Regions from separate parts of the Homo sapiens genome. Here region 1 is linked to region 2. Evidence: promoter capture Hi-C in human tissues and cell types (Jung and others, 2019). All regions are on one chromosome and are shown on one strand. Each heading gives the region's core, a stretch centred on a gene start or on the middle of the fragment in contact. The rest is flanking DNA. Distances are from core to core; before and after follow the strand shown. Region 1 overlaps ARHGAP12 (Rho GTPase activating protein 12). Region 2 holds the start of LYZL2 (lysozyme like 2).

Evidence for each region. The method cuts DNA at HindIII sites, captures the fragments that hold promoters and counts their contacts. A contact is called where the count stands out against the background at its distance.
Region 1: a fragment that was not itself captured here is called in contact with the fragment with the promoter of LYZL2 in region 2 in 1 of the 25 tissues and cell types used here (dorsolateral prefrontal cortex).

The regions. Positions count from the first base shown.
Region 1 is chr10:31,825,606-31,830,026 of GRCh38, reverse strand. ARHGAP12 (Rho GTPase activating protein 12) reads left to right here. Exons shown (of 20, transcript NM_018287.7): 11 at 3,642-3,723. Among named protein-coding and RNA genes, the nearest start is that of ARHGAP12, 100 kb to the left of the region's middle. The HindIII fragment of the contact is 4,381 bases long and covers 1-3,440 here.
Region 2 is chr10:30,628,012-30,633,023 of GRCh38, reverse strand. LYZL2 (lysozyme like 2) reads left to right here and starts at 3,271. Exons shown (of 5, transcript NM_183058.3): 1 at 3,271-3,431. The HindIII fragment of the contact is 10,435 bases long and covers 1-5,011 here.

The DNA of each region.
Region 1 (4,421 bases), core at 1-2,500, 1.2 Mb before region 2:
TGTTTTACATTTTTTTGTAAATCTTTAGTGTTTGGCTTAATGGAAAACAGATGAATTTTCATCTCTGCTTGCAGTCTGTTGTGACATATTATTTTGTTTGAAGTATGTGAAAAAAATCCTTTTCACAACTAAAGGTGGAAAATGGAGGAATGTTTTAAGATATGTTCAGATAATTGTGCATTTTCCTGCTGCTCCGAAACTCTACAAATGGTAGTTTGTTGAGGGTTAGTTGTAGTGAAGACTCTGAAAAACTGCCGGTGAACGGTTCATACTCAGTTACATTAAAAGCCGTTGGTCTTTGTTGCACCTGAGTGAATCTTTGCCCATGCTTAATTTTATAATATCTTGTAGGTCATTTGTAAAATACTAGTTCACTAACTTTGCTCATTTCTCAAATGTTTACACATTTTATTTATAATATCAAAGAATCATACATCAGTACTGTCAGAAAAGTATTGGGACGTTGTCAAATCCATTGTAGCAGATGCCAGGTGTTCCAAAGTTCTACTTTCTGTTTGAAAGCTTCAATTTTTTTTATGGTGGTAAAAAAATACATAAGTTTGCTATCTTAACCATTTTTAAGTGTACATCTCAGTGGTGTTAAGTATATTCACATTGTTGTGCAACAGATCTCTAAAACCTTTTCATCTCATAACGCTGAAACTCTATACCTACTAATTCCCTCTTCCTCCATCCCCCAGCCCTTGGTAACCTTTCTGCTGTTTCTGTGATTTTGACTACCTTAGATATTTTGTATTGGTGGAATGATATGTTATATGTATAACTTTTGTGACTGGTTTATTTTGCTTGGCATAATGTCCTTGAGGTTCATTCATGTTGAAAGTTTTGTTGTTGTTGTTGTTGTTGTTGTTTTTGAGACAGAGTCTTGCTCTCTCGCCCAGGCTGGAGTGCAGTGGTGCGATCTTGGGTCACTGCAACCTCCGCCTCCCAGATTCAAGCAATTCTCCTGCCTCAGCCTCCCAAGTAGCTGGGATTACAGGCATGTGCCACTACGCGTGGCTAATTTTTGTATTTTTAGTAGAGACGGGGTTTCACCATTTTGACCAGGCTGGTCTTGAACTCCTGACCTCAGGTGATCCGCCCGTCTTGGCCTCCCAAAGTGCTAGGATTGCAGGCGTGAGCTACCATGCCCAGCCTCATGTTGAAAGTTTTAATTTTTTGTTGTCTATAAATAATATTATTTGTTTTCTTTGAAAACTTCATTTATTTTTAAGATAATGTTTGTGTGCCACATATCCAGGTCTGAATAACTATAGTATGTACATCAGTTGTTTTTTCAGGAGAAAAAATGGGGTTCCAGGAAAAAAAAATGTGACTAATTCACCTTGCAACTAAGTCACGCAAGTGCTTAGTCCTTGAGGCAATAATCGTTATTTTACTATTTATGTATTCAATATTTGTTCTCAGATATATATCTACTAGTTCTACAGTTTTTCTCATTTTGAAAATTGAACTAAAAAAGCTTACTTAAAGTGGAAATAGGCTAATTTAAGTATTTTTCATAGTAGGGAGTCAGTAGATGATATCTAAAGAAATAGAAGACTGAGAATATAAAATGAATTTACAAAAAATTAAAATACTTCCAAAATATCTTCAGATCCAGAAAATGAAATAATGATGACAGAAAAAGCACCATCTATAATATCAATATCAGTAAATGTAAATGGACTACTCATCTATTGAAAGAAAAAGGTGCTCAGACTGAAGCATAAAAAAGCAAAACTTAACTAAATTCTATATGTAAAAGAAACACCTAAAGATGATTCAGAAAAGTTGAAAAAAAAAAGCAATAAGGTGTGTCAAAGGTATAGAAAGTAAAGCAAGACTAGGGATATCAGTAGCAAAGTTCATCCTAGGGAGAGAGCATAAAGCATTATGAAAGTAGTATTTAAAATGGTAAAGCATGTGCAGAAGTCCACAGTGAAGATGTAATTATTAGGAATCACCATTTACCAAATAAAGTAGCATTAACAAACATAAGCAAAAAAATACAGGAAATAAATGGAAACATAGAAACTTAGTAGTAATTAACTTTATTTCACTAGTAGTAATTAACTTTATTTCACTTATCTTAATCCATAAAGTTCAACTAGACATAAAAAGTAATTTAAAAAAAGGTAAGTCTTATTGATAGATATTAAATTCTACATTCTGAAAACAGAAAATAAACCTCCTTTAGAGGTGGTTTTTTTTTTGTTTTTGTTTTTTTTTCTGGGTGACGGAGTCTCACTCTGTCACCCAGGCTGGAGTGCAGTGGTGCAATCTCGGCTCACTGCAAGCTCTGCCTCCCGGGTTCACGCCATTCTCCTGCCTCAGCCTCCCGAGTAGCTGGGACTGCAGGTGCCCGCCACCACGCCTGGCTAATTTTTTGTATTTTTAGTAGAGACGAGGTTTCACCATGTTAGCCAGGATGGTCTCGATCTCCTGACCTCATGATCCACCCGTCTCGGCCTCCCAAAGTGCTGGGATTACAGGCGTGAGCCACCGCACCCGGCCTAGAGGTTTTTATAAAATTGGCCATATGTTTGGCTATAAGGATAGCTTTAATAAATCCCTGCAGTAGACAGATTTGACATTCATTTATCTTCCTAGCAACTGTGTCCTTATATAGGGTAATTTTAATTTATTTTCCTACTTGTAAACACTGATTCATACCTGCTGTTTGAAAAGTACTGTGCTAGGCCTGAGGCAGATAAAAAATAAAAATAAAAACTGTTTTGTTTTTTCAAATAATTTACAATTCCTATGAGAGAGAAACATTTACATAAAAATCTCTAATATGATAAGGGAGAAGTTGAGGGGAATCTGGCTGGGGTGTAATATTCAAAAGCTTTAAAGTTCTAAATGGGTGAACTGATAATACATATGCTGTGTGAGGCGTACCTCTGTATCTGGAGATAGGATAGTAGATAAGTGGACAGTTTCTTTAAAAGCCCCATATTATACCAAAGTCTTAACATTGGTTACCTCTAGAGTATGGATTGAAGAAGAAATGGGATTCCCTTTCCTTTACACATTTTTGTTTTCAGAGTTTTTGCATACCGTATATGTGTTGCTTTTGTGATGGAGGAAACATTTTGTTTTTAAATGTCGTGTGGTCTATCAGTGTACAATTCATTGTATGCCTGTAATGCACCTAGTACCTACTACCTGAGTACTCCAGCCCAATTAGGGGAAGGCAGATCACCAAGAAATGTAACACAGTCTGTATAAAGAATTAGGTGAGTGAGGGAAGCGTGTTTGTCTAATTTTTACTTCTAAGTAAGAATTCTTGATAAATACAATATTCCACTTGTGTGACTTTAAAATAAATTAGTGTCTTTGATCACAAAGTGCTGTATTAATTTCACGTGAACATAATTACATGCGTCATTCATTCATAGTTATTTCTGATAACTTCTCTGATTAACTTCATTTGTTTTGGGGCCTTCATGATCAGGTTTGAACCATAAAATGACTGTAAATTGCATTAGTATCTATCCCCAATAAAAACAATTAAAATGTCAACAAGGCTGTAAATTGTAGATAACATTGATAAGAGCTAAGTAGGTCTTAATTTTTTGAATTTGGCTGAAAGAACTCGAGATTGGAGCTTTAATCGGTCATCTTTATAATTACAGAAAGAACTGGTTGTCTTCTTGGGCGGTGTTGCAGGGTTCATCTTTACTTTTTACCAAAACTCAAGGAAGTAGCACAAGTTGGGTAAGTATTTCTTCTCTTTGGAGATTTTATACATTTAAATTATGTGAATAGTATCGTACCTGAATTTCAGGAGGTAATTTCCAGAGTCCTTATAGTTATAGCTAGTGTGCAAATAAAAATGAATAAAATCTTCTTAAAGATTCATTTTAACTTATGAGAGAAAAAGAGGACTAAGTAGGACAGTCTAATTAGTGGTGTTATTAAAATCAACAGATTCTGTTTTATCCATTCAACTGAAAAGTGGGCTTATTACTTGGGCATTATAGAGAAAATACATTTCTTGATTCATTTTCAGGATGTTAAAGCTTTGCTGTGTTTGTGACTCTGCTATTTCAGATATTTAGTCAGAAAATAAGCAGTAATGTGGCAAGCTGTATCTTGAATTGTGATCTGACCATTGGTTACAAATCAGTGATTGAGGTGTCAGTGTCTGGATTGTCAGCCAGCTTTCAAAAGAAAAAGAAATGTCACATTACTTGTGGGATTTTGAAGCTTTTTATATATTTGAGTGCTTACTATCATTACTCTACTCTTCAGTTATTTGTAATGCAAACATTAAAAATTATAATTTGTGACATATAATAGCTACATTTTTTGAATGCTCATTCTGTATCCCACATATGTTGTCAGTGCAGAGGATTGTGTATATATTGTCTCCTTAACGCTGGGATAGCTATTGCTCTGATTTCGCCCTTCCC
Region 2 (5,012 bases), core at 2,022-4,521:
ATACGCCTGGAATTATATAACATGTAGTCTTCTGGGTCTGGCTTCTTTTATTTAGCAAAATGCATTTAAGATTCATCCACATTGTTGCAGGAATCAAATAGCTCATTCCTTTCATTGCTGAGTAGTATTCCATTGTATGGCTAGATCCCGGTTTTTAAATATATTTGCCTGTTGAAGGTCATCTTGGTTGCTTCCATTTTTTAGTGATTATGAATAAAGTTGCTATAAACATTGGTTAGCTTGTTTTTGTGTGAACGTAAGTTTCTGATTCACTTGATTAAATACCTAGGCGTGTGATTGTTGATTTATATAAGTCTGTGTTTAACTTTATAAGAAACTGCCAAACCGTTTTCCAAAGTGACTGTACCACTTTGCATTTCCACCAGTGATAAATGGGAATTCTTACGGTTCTCTGTCTTCATCATCATTTGGTGTCGTCTGATTGATTTTAGCAATTCTAATCAGTGAGAAGTGATATCTAATTGTGGTTTTAATTTATACTTCCCTGGTGACAATGATATTGATCATCTTTTCATATGCTTATTTGTCATTTGGATTTCTTATATGATGAAGCGTCTGCTTAAATCAGTTGCCCATTTTTTAATTGGGTCATATGTTTGCTTATGGTAAAATTTTAAGAGTTCTTTATATATTCTGAATACAAGGCTTTCATCAGACATGTGATTTATAAATATTTCTTCCAGTCTGTAGCTAGTCTTTTCATTCTCTTAACAGTGTCTTTCAAAGAGCAAACATTTTTAATTTTGATCAAGTCCAACTAAACGTTTTTTTTTTCTTTCATGGATTGTGCTTTTGTTGTTGTGTCTAAAATGTTATTGCCAAACCCAAGTCCTGCTGATTTTCTATGTTTACTTATAGAATTTCATAGTTTCATTTTTTACTTTTATGTCTTTGATCCATTTTAGATTAATTTTTATATGAGATATAAGGTATGTATTCTTCAATATGCCTTCTTTTATTTTGTTGGTTTTGAACATGTGTTTTGAGCATAGACAGTCTTATTTTAGTACCATTTGGTGAAAAGAACATCATTTTTCCATTGAATTTAATTAGCATCTTTATAAAAAATGTTGTTGACTAAATATTCATAGATCTATTTCTGGGTTCTCTCTTCTGTTCCACTGGTCTATGGGTCTATCTTCCCACCAATATCATTCTCTCTTGATTACTACAGCTTTATATTGTCTTAAAATCATGTAGAATGAGTCCTTCAATTTTGTTCTTTTTCTGAATAGTTTTGTTTATTGTAGTCCATTTGCCCTTCCGTATAAGTTTTAAGATCATCTTATTGATATTTTCAAAACAATTTTCTGGGATTTTAATTGGAATTCCATTAAATCTATAGATTAAATCTTAACAACATAGAATTTTTAAATTCAGGAACATGGTATTTCTTTTCCACTTAGGTCTTCTTTAGTTTTTCATCTGTCTTACAGTTGTCAGAATATATATCCTGCACAGATTTTGTTAGGTTTACATTTAAGTACGTCATATTCTTGTGTGTGCTGTTGTAAATGATATTTTTTATTTTAGAAGAATCTAAAATATTTTGATTCCTAGTATATAAGAATAGAAATGGCTTTTGTATATTTACTATGTATCCGAAAACTTGCTAAACAAGCATTTTTGAAAAAAAAGACAATCTGTCTCTATTTTCTCATTGACTATAAAATTCCTATTTCAAAGCACTTTGAAAAAGATGTTTGAAGAAAAACCTATGTATTTTCTCGTATTATAGACAATTCACAAGAAAAAGCACACAGGCCAGATGCCGTGGATCATGCCTATAATTTCAGCACTTTGGGAGGTTGAGGCGAGCAGATTGCTTGAGATCAGGAGTTTGAGACCAGTCTGGCAGACATGGTGAAACACCATCTCTACTAAAAATACAAAAATTATCTGGGCGTGGGGGCACATGCCTGTAATACCAGCTACTCGGGAGGCTGAGGCACGAGAATCGCTTCAACCTGCGAGGTGGAGGTTGCAATGAGCCGAGATCACACTACTGAGCTCCAGCCTGGACAACAGAGGGAGACTCTGTCTCAATTAAAAAAAAAAAAAAAGAGAGAGAGAGAGAGAAAAAAGTCCACAAATGGCTTCTGAAGATAAGAAAAGATGCTCAGACAGCTTGAAATAAGGGAAGCTGAAATTGAAACTTTGCTGACAAATTATGTTTCATCTCTAATATTAGCAAATATCTTAACCTTTGGTAATAGGGTATGCTAGCCATCTTCGTCATACAAGCCCACGTGGAAGGCAATTTGGCAATATCTAGCAAAATTACAAAATTACAGTCCTTAACCCAGCAATTCAATTTCCAGGAATGTATCCTACAGATATTCTTGCAAATGTACAAATGACAAATGTACAAGATTACTAATTGTAATATGTTTATCATAGAAGAAAAAAATACCTTAAGTGTGAGTCAATATGGAATTGGCTAAATATGTTATATCTACACAATGTAATACTATATAAACTTAAAACTAGATTTCAACAAGATCTTTGCATTATTTGCAGATGGAATTTAATAAAATACAATAATTAGTTAGGTACAACTAACAACAAACTTATACTGAGATCTACATATTCCAATGAGAATTCATTTCAAATGTGTCATTAAATCTGAACACAGAAATAAATGGACCTTCAAACTAGCTCTTTATTGAGTCACAAAGTGTTAAGCCAAATTTTTAAAAAACAATGAAATCATGTTAATTATACATAAAAATTTTTTATTTCTTTTGTGGCCCTCCTTTGACAATATTTTATTAATTAACAATATAACTATAGCAAAGAAATGTGCTGTTAATTAATTTTTAATGTTAATTTCACCTCTCATTCATTTTCAGATTTTAGTTTTGTGTATGTTGATAATTTATGTAGCATATTAGTACAGAGGTACAGAAGTGTGATTTATAATTTAATATACATCTAAAGAGGATACATGCTTAACTTTATTAATGGAATTTGTGATAAAGTTTGCAGACTGTTGCCTTAGAGAAGAGCTCTCACTTGGACGGGAGGCCCTGGCCAAGTTGTGTAGTGAGGACAGTTGTTGAGAGGAAAAGAGAAAAAACGAGAGGTATTAAGGCCCAGAAGAGAGTTAGCACCTGCTTCAGAACACAAGCGTGCAGGATGATATAGCTTTTAGTGCCAAGAAGTAGAATTCTAGCATCTCTAGGTGGTGAGAAACAAAGGACTAAGAATTTTTCTTTCTCTAACACTCTAAAGAAAGGTTCTTGAGCTAGGAAAGGATTACTCGAGCCTTGTTAGAATCAGACATGGCTTCAGGGGATGCAGGACGCTCCCCTGAGCTGCCTGTCACCGACTAAGTGGAGCAGTGTTTCTTCCGCAGACTCAACTGAGAAGTCAGCCTCTGCGGCAGGCACCAGGAATCTGCCTTTTCAGTAAGACCTAAATTACTCTTATGAAGCCACCTGTCCCTGAGAACCAGCAATGGCAGGTTCTTGAAGGATGTAGAACATGATGCTTGGGGTTATCATTGCTACGGGTTTTGTTTTGACTTGTTTGAGATCAGTTAACATTCTAAGGCAGAGGATGGAAACCAACCTTATTTGTAAGCTCTGCATCTTTTTTTTTTTTTTTGAAACAGGATGTCACTCTGTTGCCCAGGCTGGAGTGCAGTGGCACAATCACAACTCACAACAGCCTCAACCTCCCAGCCTTAAAAGATCCTCCCACCTCAGCCTCCCAAACAGGTGGGACCACAGTCACACACCACTATGCCTGGCTAATTTTTGTGTATTTTGTAGTGACAGAGGTCTACCTTTGTTGCCCAGGCTGGTCTCAAACTCCTGGCTTCAAGCAATTTGCCCTTTTCACCCTCACAAAGTGCTGAGATTACAGGTGTGGGCCACCATGCCCAGCCTAAGCTCTGCATCTTAAACCTCGTTTGTCTGTCCCTCACAGCTTAGCACAATGCTGTACACCACGGACTGGCATGATCTCTCTGAAAAGGGCCAGATAATAATATGTTAGGCTTTGTGGTCTATACAGCCTCTAACACAGCTACTCAACTCTGCCACTGCAGCAGGAAATCAGCCACCAACAATATATTACCAAATGATGAGAGTAGCTATGTTTCAATAAAACTTTACATACAAAAGCGGGCCTGGTTTGCCCACGCTTGCTATTCACGTTTGTAATGTACATGCCCCTCATGCAATGCAGTTCCTTATCTTATTGCTTAGTCACCTTAAAGCCCTGCTTGTTACTCGGTGCGGTGGCCTTGCTGATGACTACTTATCCCTGTTTTGGGCCTAGCCTTTCAATGCAGGAATCCAGCCCCAGGGAGAGAAACTAATGACTAGAGAAGTTTCCAGGCAAGTGCAGAAAATGACACGGGATGAACATATGTAAGAACATCAAGTTCAGGATCCCGAGTAGTTGTCAGAAATTTCACTTCACCCCATCCCAGCAAGGCTGTTGTGTTTGGGGAAGACATTATTTTAAGAGGGGAGGAGATTGTGGAAAATCAGTAGGCAGCAGGAGACAGCGCTCTTGATCCTACTCCCATTTCAGACGATTCTATGGGGGCCTCTTTATTGTCCCTCTGCTCCCCCAGGTGCTTTCCTCCTTTCATGAGGCTTTGTCCTCCATCCCTCTTGCTCCCCAGTCAGGTGCCAGACTTTTAGGAGGCCGCCCGGAGCACTGGTTGTGAAGCTTAGCAAAGCAATGCATTTGCAATCTAAGATAAAACACTAGTACTTTGGAAGCAATGCTCCCACATTTTGAAATGCATCAAGAAAAGAAAAGGAAAGATTAGGTGCTTAATCTTCACCCTTCAATAAACCCCCAAACGATGAATCTTTTTTTTTTTGAGGCGGAGTCTCGCTCTGTCGCCCAGGCTGGAGTGCAGTGGCGCAATCTCCGCTCACTGCAAGCTCAGCCTCCTGGGTTCACGCCATTCTCCTGCCTCAGCCTCCCGAGCAGCTGGGACTACAGACACATGCCACCACACCCGGCTA